Linked DNA regions of Homo sapiens: region 1 is linked to region 2. Evidence: promoter capture Hi-C in 16 types of primary human blood cells and fetal thymus (Javierre and others, 2016). All regions are on one chromosome and are shown on one strand. The core of a region is centred on a gene start or on the middle of the fragment in contact, and the rest is flanking DNA. Distances in the headings are between cores, read along the strand shown.

Evidence for each region. Contacts are between HindIII fragments. The CHiCAGO score rates a contact against its expected background, and 5 or more counts as called.
Region 1: a fragment that was not itself captured here is called in contact with the fragment with the promoter of ATG10 in region 2 in 10 of 17 cell types (non-activated CD4 T cells, total B cells, total CD4 T cells and 7 more); the score reaches 8.3 in non-activated CD4 T cells.

Annotation. Positions count from the first base shown.
Region 1 is chr5:81,517,081-81,523,059 of GRCh38, reverse strand. All of the region lies in intron 4 of SSBP2 (single stranded DNA binding protein 2), which reads left to right. Among named protein-coding and RNA genes, the nearest start is that of ACOT12, 130 kb to the right of the region's middle. The HindIII fragment of the contact is 5,147 bases long and covers 1-3,977 here.
Region 2 is chr5:81,967,755-81,974,360 of GRCh38, reverse strand. It overlaps ATG10 (autophagy related 10), which reads right to left and starts at 2,338. Exons shown (of 8, transcript NM_031482.5): 1 at 2,055-2,338. RefSeq lists silencers at 1,938-2,177, 2,348-2,677 and enhancers at 1,692-2,247, 2,248-2,805. The HindIII fragment of the contact is 10,147 bases long and covers 265-6,606 here.

The DNA.
Region 1 (5,979 bases), core at 155-2,654, 450 kb after region 2:
AATACCAGCTACAATATTTAGATCACCAACTCTTTGGCCCTTTATCTGTTTTTAGATGCTAAGGATCTACTTCTTTGTGGAATATTTTGGTTTTGTTTATTTGATTTTGTTTTTGATGTTATTTCTGGGTCTCTCTCTTGCTCTTTTGGAAGCCTAAAGGATTGAATACTATTCTGTGGATTCTTTGTGAAAATAACATGTAAAATATTTTTGTGATTGAAAAACAGACCAAAAAAAGTAGCACAGTGAATGATACTGGTTCTCCAGACTGTGAGTGGGTGACTAAGTGAGGTGGCCCAGGGTAGAGTACGTGGTGCTAAAAATAAATTTGTGTCCCTGTGCAAACAAATGCCCAGGAATAATGTAAATGATTTCTAGGTTATTTCTAGTACCTAACTTTCCAAAATAGAAAAACTTGTTCTTCATAGTCTGAAAATTAAAATGCTTCAAATCTTATTTTATTGAAATGAATTATTTTAAAGTTAGAAATATCTGCATTTTATTTAACAAATTTTAGGGATTAGGTTTATTTGAAGTAAACTTAATATGTGGTCATATTTTCTAGCTATTGACAAAACTGGGTTTGTGTGTGTGTGAGTAAACAATCATTTTCATTTATGTTAGAAATAAGACATTCCAGAAAGTTTATAAAAATTGTATTTAAAAAAATCACTCAGGTACGTTACTCTAAGCTAATACTATTTATTCACCTACAGTCTTTTATACGTTACCTTTTATCATTTGCATAACTAAAATCATGTTACACTCAATTCTGTATTTGGTATGCTTCACATGGCATTATATCACCAACGGGTTCCCACATTTCTCAAATAATGCCATTTGTAAGCATTGTTTTTAATGGTTGAATCATGTTCCATAATTTAGATGTACTGCAATTTACGCATTATATTACTGATGAATTTTTGGGTTACTTTGAATATTTCTTACTGTAAATATATCACAGAACACATTTTATGTATACTGTTTTTCTCACCGTTCAGAATTTATATTTGGATAGTTTCGGAAAAGAAGGGTCACTTAGTCAAATTTATTAATATTTTTATAGCACATGATATATACATGTAATGTGATTTCTACAAGTGTACTAGTTTCCCATGATACCAATAAACTGTAAAAATCCTTCTGGCAAGATTCTTAAGCATATTTCCCCAGTCATCAATAACATTGCAACTGTTTATCTAGTTGTTAATAACATTTGCAAAAAATGACCCTTGTGAGGTTTACCAGATCTTTGCTTTACACCTATTAACTAAAAAGATTTTCCCCAACTTTCCAACATTACAACAAAAAAGAAACTAAGTACGAACATTGGAAAGGTTCACATTATTCCAGGCAAGTAATTTAAAGAGACCAATACCTAGATATAGAATTGAAACATCTGAGAATTAAAAGTATCAGGAAAATGTCCTTCAAATCTTTAGAAGATAAAAACAGATGATATCCCAAGGAACAAAAATCAAGGTGGTATCAGACTTCTCTGTACCACTAAATACTAGACAACAGTAGTTAACTATAGTTTGATGAGTGTCATCAAAGACACTTTCCTATATATAAGGATTTGGAAAACAATATCCATTTACTCTCTGTTAAACTAAGAAATGTATAAAAATTAAAACTCAAGCATAGTGAAGTTATGTTATTAAAAAATTAGATAAAGTTGAAGTCATTATTTTGGATGCTAAGAGTATGGTTACAAAATTGAAGGTTAAGGTCAAAAATTATTACTGAAGAAGAGATGATAAAAACAAAAATGTATGCCTAAAACACCAGATGTTTATAATAAGGATTGGGACATGGAAGAGGGAGATATAGAATAGGAAAAATAAGCTAGCTTCTTCATTTTTCATAGGTAAAGGCAAACAATATTGTTTGTCTTAACTTTAATACCTTTAAAGCATAGGATAAAGAAAGTTTTTTTTCTGATTTTAAAGGACATCTCATTAGATGCATTTTAGAAACTTTTCTACTAACAAGTAAAACAGTTAAATAAAATATAGCCATAAAGTTTAAAAATAAATGGATGGGAGATGATTTATTATGCAAACACAAAAGGAAAGCTGAGCTTGCAATATTAATTTTGGACAAAATAGATTCAAGGCAGTGATTACTAAACATGAAAAAGAAAGTGACTTAATAAAGGATAGAATCCACAGTAAAGATAAACATTGTGCTAATGAACATAGAATTAAAATATGTAAGGCAAACATTGGTAGAGGCACAAGGAGAAATGGACTGACAACAGTGTGGGCATTGTATATATATTTGAAAGAGCAAGGGACAAAAATTAGAGACAATATGAAGATATTAAACCAATAGATTAAAATGTAGACAGAGAATAAGGATATTTACTAAGTATCCATGGGAAATTATAACAATCATTGATTAGACCACAAAAAAAATTGTTTAATAAATTTCTAAATACAAAAATTGTATAATACATCTTACCTGGCCACAATTGGAAAACTAGAAAAAACAAATTAAAAAATAAAACCTCCAACTATTTGTGAATTAAAGCATATCTTTTATTACATCTGCAAACTTGATATTGGTATTCTCATTTTTTTCGTAAATCATTGAATTACTGTAATATTCATTGCCAGTTGCATTCAATAACTGGCAAATAAATTATAATCATTAGATGGCTTAAGAAAAAAATTGTGAACACCAATGTCAAACTTTGCAGATGCAACCAAGGGTAGATTCAGAGCCAAATTTGTAGTTTTATATTCTTTGCATTTTAAAAAGGGGAAAATAGACCAGGCGTGGTGGCTCACGCCTATAATCCCAGCACTTTGGGAGGCTAAGGTGGGTGGATCACTTGAGGTCAGGAGTTTGAGACCAGCCTGGCCAACATGGTGAAACCCTGTCTCTACTAAAAATACAAAAAATAGCTGGGCGTGGTGGCAAGTGCCTGTAGTCCCAGCTAATTGGGAGGCCGAGACAGGAGAATTACTTGAACCTAGGAGGCAGAGGTTACAGTGAGCCAAGACAGCACCACTGCACTCCAGCCTGGGCAACAGAGTGAGACTCCATCTCAAAAAAAAAAAAAGAGGGGGGAAAATAGCTACTAATTTAATTAAGATGTTTGAAAATAAATAAAACCTTTAAAAGGCTGGAGAATGCAAATAATTTGTTAAAAAGAAGTAAACATGTTAATGAAACAGAAAAAAAGTAAATTAATAGACCAATTCCTGGCAAAGATGATGAGAATGCTAATTCAGTTTAAGAGGGAGAAAATAAATCATCATCTCTGGGGGCCTACAATTCAGAAAGACAGTCCAGGGCAGGCGGGCAGACTCTGCTCCACGAAGTCATCCAGAGATTGAAACTAGCAGGTGCTCTGCCATTGTATAAGGCATCCTTTTTTTTTGGTCTGCATGGCAGAAATTAAATCTCTGAAACATTTGTGTTCCAGACAATAGGAGGAGAAAGAAAGGAGGGAGCATTACAAACAAGATCTTAAGACCAATGTTCTGGAAGTGACATGTGTCTCTTCTGCTCATATTCCATCAGTAAGAACCTGATTTTTGGTGAGAACACAGGGGACTGAGAAATGTAATATAGCTGGGATGCCATGTGCCTGGCTGGTAGAAGAAAGGAAAAACATATTTTTGTGGTCTACTTAGCAGTGTCTCTCACACCTGCTACAGTGGACCTTTATAAATTATGTAAAAGTAGTGTATATATGGATAAAACTAAATATTTCAGTGACATGAAGTGTTCTGAGAAAATGTAAATGAACCAAATTGAAGAAAAGAGAAGTAGAAAATATGAAAAGATAATAATTCTTTCCAACATTGCCTTTGTCTAAGGCAGTTTTACTGCTTTACTGCTGTGTCTTTTAACTTTCAATAAGTAGATAAATACCATATTATAGAAACTTCTTCAGAGCATTATAAAAAACAATTTGCCATCAATTCCTTTTGAAAAGGTAGAATAATCCTGATGCTCAAGCTTGAAAAATATAATACATCAAAGGACATTCTAGACCCATCTCATTGAGAATAGAGATGTAAAACTCCTACATAAAATATTACCAAATATAATTCAGTAGCCTATTAAATGCATCATGCATGATGATCAAGCATGACTTATCTCAGAAATACAATGAAGATTTAAGAAAACTATCAATATGTGATTACTTATATCATGCTTCCCAAAAGAAACACTAAATAATACTACTCCAAAAATGAAAAGGCAAAAAGCATATTTTCTTATTCCTGATTTCTTTGAAAATTGTTTTTTATAGTACTAGGCAAAGGATGATTTTTTAGTATGATAAATAATATGTCCTCAACCAATAGCCAAAATATTTTACTGTGCTTTACACTAAAGTTGCCAACATAAGATACCTACTATCATTATTTTAAGTGTTTCTCATAAAGTACCTACAGATGGCTTATGTCTTAGTTCATTCTGTGCTGCTATAACAGAATATCCGAGACTGGGTAGTTTATAAAGAACATAAATTTATTTATTATAGTTCTGGAGGCAGGAAAGTCCAAGATTAAGGCACCAGCATCTGGGTCTGGTGAGGGCTTTCTTGCAGCATCCTCACATGGCAGAGGGAAAGCTACAAAAAACTCCTTCCATCAAGCAAGCCCTTTTATAAGGACGTGTAATACCATTCTCAAGGGAGGAACCCTCAAGACCTACTCACCTCCTAAAGGGCCCGCCTCTTAATACTATCACACTGGCAACACCTGAATTTTGGAGGGGACACATTCGTACCATAGCATCTTAAAAAGAGTACAGATGGCTAAATAAGGAAAATCTATAATCCCCTGCTCAGCCTCTTCCTACTCACCCTTCCCTTTAATCCCCTTTCCAGTTTCTAATAATCATAGCACTATTTTAATTTCTCTATTATTATCTTCATATACTTAAAATACTTTTCATACACATGAAATTATTTTTCCTATTTTACCAAATATAGACTGTCTTGATTCTTCACTGTATAATTAGGCAAACAGTTCTCTAGCATTCTTAGTAAATAAATTGTTATTCAGTGTGTAGAATCTTGATAAATGCTAATTGTGTTTAGTAATAAATTGCATCCTAATTTTATTTTTAAACAAATTTGTATTTAATGCCTGTTGCTTTGAAACTTTCATACAGAGTATATACAACTTTTTTTCCCTACCAGAGACCAACAGTGATAATAACTAAATTTAAAAATAAGAAGGTTTTTAACTTTTATTTCAAGTTTTTATTTAACAGGACAAAAATATAAAATAGGAGTATATTTCTCTGTTCTTGAAATTCAGAAAATATGGAATTAGAATAAAATATTTTTAAAAATCAGTCACATAATAGCATTTCAGAGAAATGGGGAAATGGGAAATGATGAAATAAATAACATAAACATATTGACTCATGCTTTCTTAGAGGGTAGAATGATATAAGTTCAAAAAGTTCCAGAGAAGATGACCACACAAACTGAACAAAATGTAAGTACATAGAACATGAAGAAAGATATCATGGTAACTCTATAAGTTCATTTTAATATTTCCTTGAGAAAACAAATAATTGTTCCATACTTTAATTGATTTGAGAACACCAAATTTAAAATATTGGATTTATAAAAAGTCAGTAAAATTATATTTGTATTTTGGGAAAATGAAAAAGAAATAAAAAAGTTGTCACTCTCCAAAAAAAAAAAAAAAAACTTGAAATTTAGGACAGATGGCTAAGTAAATGCTTCAAGAGCAGTTAGAAAATACATTATCTGGCAGTGCATGATAAAAGCATGCAAATTGATCTGTTAGAAGAAACAAAACAACTTTTAATGATAATATTGTTATATCTGCACTGAAGTCTTATATATTCAGTTTAGTTGGAGGAAATACTGTAAACCCATATTATTTGTATGTTTTTCTCTTTTAAGAGAGAGCTATAATGAAAACTCAACCCTAAATAGTCGTGGATATATTATATAATAAAGGATTTTCTATGCTA
Region 2 (6,606 bases), core at 1,089-3,588:
CCCTAATTAAGATTCCTTCAGGTACAGCTTATTCTCCTATTCTCCATTCCCCAACTTTCTAATTGCTTTATTATACTCAGGCTGCTTGTCCCCTGAAAACATTTGTTTTCAATAGATAATCACCAAATGATCTCCATGGCTTTTTTTTTCTTAAGGTTCCCTGATTATATTTATGATTCAAACACAACCTCCTGGGTCCCAAACACATCTCTAGGTTTCAAAGATAATCAAATCAAGCCCATCTTAAGAAATCTTCTGTAAGCTTTACTCTCCTTGTTTTTCCTAAAGGGCTGCTTTACCTTTCTCAGAAATGTATTAGGCATCAGGAACTACTGTCGACATGTAGTTTGTCACAAAACATTATACATAACTTGAATGGCCCACCATGTACCAAAATCTCAGTTAACCTTATCCTAAATAAAACAGGAGACAAGGGAAATAATCTTTTAACACTCCACATTCAAATGTATGCAATTTAGAACTACTATTTCCACTAATTTCTTCAATTTAAAATATCAATAACAATTTTTAAACTCTGCAATTTGCAAGACTTTAATTTTAATTTCTCAATACTCAGGATTTATTTTTTGGTCAAAGTTCTGTAACATTTCCTCTGGTCACTGTTTAACCTTTCTGAAGCAATGAGAAAGGATTCTACTTGGAGTCCTAAGATGTATTTGAGTACCACACAGGGCCTATGTCCTTCCATCCTGAGAAGCATAAACTTGTTTTTGCCACTAAAGAATAGAGACCATTGTCCAATAACAAAAGTTATAAATATGACTCAAAATGAACCTGTGACAAAGATTTATTAAACTCACAATGGAACAAGCTGAATGGCTTAGTGTGCTCAAAAGCATTTCAGGAACTGAGCATAAACACTGAAGAAAGGATGGTAAGTTTGATAGGTTAGACAGAAAAATGGTTAATATTGGCCGGGCGCGGTGGCTGACGCCTGTGATCCCAGTACTTTGGGAGGCCGAGGCAGGCGGATCACAAAATCAGGAGTTCCGGACCAGCCTGGCCAATATGGTGAAACCCCGTCTCTACTAAACTTACAAAAATTAGCTGAGCGTGGTGGCGGGCACCTGTAGTCCCAGCAACTCGGGAGGCTGAGGCAGGAGAATTGCTTTAACCCGAGAGGCAGAGGTTGCAGTGAGCCGAGATCGTGCCACTGCACTCCAGCCTGGGCGACAGAGCAAGACTCTGTCTCAAAAAAAAGAAAAGAAAAATGGCTAATATCCTACAAGGCACTAAAACTACAACCTTTAGGAGTACTGTATTTTTTTCTCTCCCACTCAGAAATAATTTGCATCTCCATTAATGAAAAAGATGTTAACTACAAAGCCTAGGCCCTAATCAATATCATCATGCCAAACAAAATATAGTCCCCTAGACATCTAAATCATCTTCAGGTGGGCCTGTTAGGCTCCATTTTGACTCTGAAAAAAACATGCTGTCCTTTTGCCTTATTTCCAATACTTTTGTAATTTTTACCGCCACTAAAAGTTTCTATAAATCAGTCAACTATTCCTTTATCATTCTCCGGTCCTCCCCGCCAATTCTTGATTTTATAGGTTTTTTGGGAGGTTTAAAAAAAAAAGAAAGACCTGTTGGCTCTAAATATCAAGTTATTCCTCCTGATACTTAATCTGAAACTTCAAATTAAGTTGGACTCAGCCACTGGAAGCCCCAGTAATTTAATACTGTTTCAACCAAAGATTTGCTATCAGTATGTGGATTTTAAACACAAAGTAGTTACTACCCACTTCGAGGGTGCTTTGGGTACTGGGCCAGGTGTGCTGGTGACACCGTGTGCGCGACGGGGACCGGGTCCCCGAGGAGGGAGTGTCCTCGCCCTTCCCCGCTCGCGGCGGCCAGCACAGGCCTGCAGTTACCGGCGGGGACCCGCTTCCCCGGCCTTTTGTTCAGGACTGGGCTGTTTCCCGCCTACCCGCGCGTGCCCTTCCTCCCTGTCCTAGGAGTGGGGCAAGGACCGTGTGGGAAGCAGAGCCGGGAGGAGACAACCGGCAAGGGCTGTGGGGAATACTCACCCCTCTCCGCTCGGCCCCTGACCCCGCAGCCCAGCCCGGCGAGGGCGGGGCGACGGGGCCAGGGGGAGGAGAGCTGGGGAGAGGGACCCAGCGCCCTGCGAGGCCACTGCCGCGCCGGTGACCCTACGGAACTGAATGATGGGACTGCGGGGGCCTCGAGGGCGGAGGAAGAGCCGAGCCAGCGCGCCCCGAGGCCAACCAGAAGTGGCCGTGGCCTCCTTCAGTCAGGTCCGCGGCCTCCTTCAGTCAGGTCCGCCACGGCCGAGTCGGAGCGTGCGCACTGCGCCTTCCCGCGCCGTGGGGGCCGCCTAGCGCAGGCCGGTGACGTGATCGGCCGCGCGCTCTGGGCAGGGCGGGGCTGAGACCCAGGCCGGGACTGGGAGCGGGTGGAGAGGAGGGAAGCGAGACCTCCCCGCCGCCCGCGACCACCCCCGCCAAGGCCCCGCCCCTCGCCTGGCGGGCAGCTCTCCCCCGCCAACCCCCACCTCCAACCCAACGCAGGCGGTGCCCTCCGCGGAGCACAAAGGCGGCTCGTTGACGGGGGAGCGGGTTACTAGCATCCCCCTAAGAGGTTGGGGAACCATGCCAGCATGCTTACGCTACAAAAAGTCCTGTAAACACCACAATTAAGCACAAGCACGGCTACCCCTTGAAAACTTACGGATGGAGGGAGAAGTTAGGAATTCGAATATTGACAATAGTACCATCTGTGGCACATATCCCAGAGGAGAAAAAAAAAAAACTAGCAGCAAAATTAAATTGGGGCGAAACGATGGGGATAAAGACTAGAAAAAATGTAGGAGTAACAGGGGTAATCGAACTGAAATAGCAGACATCTGAAAGAAAACTAGCATCTGCTCCTTCTAACAACAGAGTTAAATTTGTTGGAAATGAAAGGAGAAAATGCAGGCGAAGAAGTGAAAGGAAAACCTGCCTTCAAACTACATGACATAGTTTTTTGATCTTGTACTACAGTTGTGTAAGATGTCACCATTGGAGGAAACTAGGTGATAGGTACACGGGACTCTAGGTGCTGTAGTATTTTTGCAATTTCCTGTGTCTATAATTATTTCCAAATAATAAGTGTTTTTAAAAGGAGAGAATACTGATCAGTGGCGACCAGGGCAAAGGGCTGGAGGAAGGGGGTGACTGAAAAGGAGCTTGAGAGCTTCTATACCGTGATTGTGTTGGTGACTAAACCACTGTTTGACAAAACCCATAAGAGGTATAAATTTTACTGCATGTGAAATAGTTTAAAACTCAAAATGATGCGACTAATAAAAATGAACTTACACTAACATTTTTTAGCAACTATGGATATAAATTAATTGGTAGCTGCCAATTTAGATTATCCATTTAATTTTTTTAAAAGCACAAGGCAGTGTGTTCTGAATGAGAGCTTAAGTAGACCAGGTGTCTCCATCAACTTTAAGTATTTACCTTAAAAACGTATTTCACAGATGAAAACAAGAATGCGGCTGGGCGCAGTGGCTCACGCCTGTAATCCCAGCACTTTGGGAGCCCGAGGTAGGAGGATCGCTTTAGCCCAGGAGTTCAAGACCAGCTATGGGCAAGGCAGTGAGACCTCATCTCTACAAAAATTTTTCAAAATAACAATAAATTTTTAAAAAAAGAATGCATTGCTTTACATTGTACTCCATATTTTAGAAACACAGTGCACCAACCACCATGTTAATTTAAAAAAAATTTTTTTTGCACTGGAGGTGTTTTAAAGTTTCATAATTCACATGCCAAAAACAAAGAAACTAAAAGAAATAACTCAGTTAACCTCCATGTACTTCCTCTCATCATATCCCTCATGGCAAAGAATGATATTGGCCTGTTTATGTGTTTACCCTACAACACTATAAACTGCTTTAAGGCTACGGTCTGTCATCATAGCATTTCAAGGTTCAAGCAGGGCTCCTGTAGCTCTCCTCTCTGATCGCTGAGGTTCACCGAAAAATCTACTCACAAAGGACAGAGTAATTGGAGGAAATGCATGCAAGTTTATTTAGCATATATACATGAGAACCTTCAGAATGAAGACCCAAAGATACAGGGGAAATTGTAATGTTCATTTGTACATCCAACAAAGTATGGACAGCCATGTAGAAATATGATTGGACAAAAGGGTATGCTCTAATGCTAATAGCCTGAGTGGGGAAACCCAGCAAGGCCTGTCTGTCTAGATTCTTCTTGGACTCTCTGGGCATGCATTCCTTCCTTCTGGGTGTAGGGCGGGACCCTCTCTGCAATGAGGGTCTTAGGACCTACAGTCAAAAAAGGTAGATCAGATAATTTCTTTATGGCCAGTTTTTACAAAGAAAGGCGGGAGAAAATTAAAGTAATATTTCCAGGATTTATGACTGGCTTTGGGGAAAAGAGGTTCTAGTTTCTATGGCCTGCCTAGTTTCTATGGCTAGTGTCAGGGGAGAATGGGACCAAGAGACAGGAAGGCAGGAGAAGGTCAGAGAAAAACTTTTGCTTCTGAGGCTGCTTCTGAGAGTTTCATTGTGGGGTATTATTTTCTAGTCCCAATATTCCTAACTAGTAGTAAGTATTCTTTGAATAAAACAAGGAATTGATCACAAAATTTATTGAACGCCTATTATATTCCAGAAGATTTATATGTACATAGTTAATCTCATAACTTCATGACATACCCATTTTATAATATCTTAATTATTAAATTCTTTTAATACTTATTTTATTAGATTTCTCTGTTTCATTTGGACATGTTGCTCACTTCTAAAAAGTCTTGCTTCCTTTCACTTACGTAAAACCCAGTCCCCTGATTCTCCTTCCAGCTCTGTGGCCATTCTTTTTTTTAAAGACAAAGTCTCCCGCTCTTTCACCCAGGCTGGAATGCAATGGCCTGGTCATAACTTACTGTAACCTGGAATTCCTGGCCTCAAGCAATCCTCCCACCTCAGCCTCCCAAAGTGCTGGGATTACAGATGGGATTACAGATGCGGCCATTCTTTTTTCTCATTGTTTTAGGCTTTTGTTTGTCCATTATACTTTAATGCTCATGTTTCACACAGAGTCTTCTAAAACTTGAAACTTCAGCTTTTTTGTTTTTTGTTTTAGTTTTCTGATACTCATGTAAATTTTTTTTAATTCAAAACAGGGTTATACAAACTGCATTACATTCAAAGTCATTTTCCTTTAACCAATAAACACTTTTATTACCAAAAATTACAAAGCAGTATAAATGTGTCTTTCAAAATATAATTACAGGATTTATTTTAAAATATAATTCATAATATCCTTTCAATAGTATGGTCCTATAAAGGGATACAAATTTAAAGTTCCATGGTAAATGTCTTATTTTCTCAATTTTGTCAGTTCTTATTACTTGCATGCATATATCCTTTCTGCTCATATCCCATAGGTCACATCTATATTCAAGGAAGGAAGAAAATGTAGCATCTAGCCATGGGCTCAGTCAAACCTTGACAGGGTGGGATTGTTTTATTATTAAAAGAAAGAAGAGAAGAATAGATACTAGGGAACAAAAGCTATCTCTACTGCAGCTTATAGTAGGCAGATCTCTTCCACCACCCTCCAGGAGGTTCTTAGGAAAAGATAAATTATATAAAAGAGTTAGAGGAGGTAATCTGATTGGATGGCAGAGATAAGAAACTTGTCTTGAAGCTGTGTGTGCATAGCACTTACTTAAAAGTGTGAGAGAAAAAAACACTAGTAGGCAAAACTATAGAGACAGTAAAAGATCAGTAGTTGCAAGAGTTTGGGGGAAGGGAGGCAAAGAGGGAAGAGATGAATACATGGAGAATAGGGCATTTTTTAGGACAGTGAAACTATGATATATGATACTGAAATAGTGGATATATGACATTATGCATTTGTCAGAACTCATATTGCAAAGACAAGGAACAAGGCTAGAATCTGGTAACCCAGAAGGATATGCTATAGACATGCAGTTTTTCTACATCCCCAAAAGTAAAAGAACATAGGGCCCTCTCAACTAATTCCAATGGGGGTAAAAAAAAGCACCTGGATAATAATAGACCACTGCCAGAATGATCCTTGCAGAACATTGGGTTCCCCTGATAAATTTAAAATACAGTGTATAGTTCCCAACTATCCTCAAACGCTTGAAAGATTAAAAAGTCCAACCATGAAGGTTGCACACCACAAGGCGTGGTGGCTCACTCCTGTAATCCCAGCACTTTTGGAGGCCCAGGCAGGTGGATCACTTGAGGCCAGGAGTTCGAGACCAGCCTGGCCAATATTGTGAAACCCCCATCTCTACTAAAAATACAAAAATTATTTGGGCGTGGTGGTGCATGCCTATAATCCCAGCTACTTGGGAGGCTGAGACATGAGAATCGCTTAAACGTGGGGATGGTGGCAGAGAGTAGGGTAGGGGTGGGGGCAGAGGTTGCAGTGAGCCAAGATGGCACCACTGCACTCCAGCTTGGGCAACAAAGCAAGACTCCGTCTCCAAAAAAAAAAGAAGGAAAAACTGGAGACAAAGCAAATACCAAAATTCACTACATGAAATACTCCAACTTATTCCGACTCT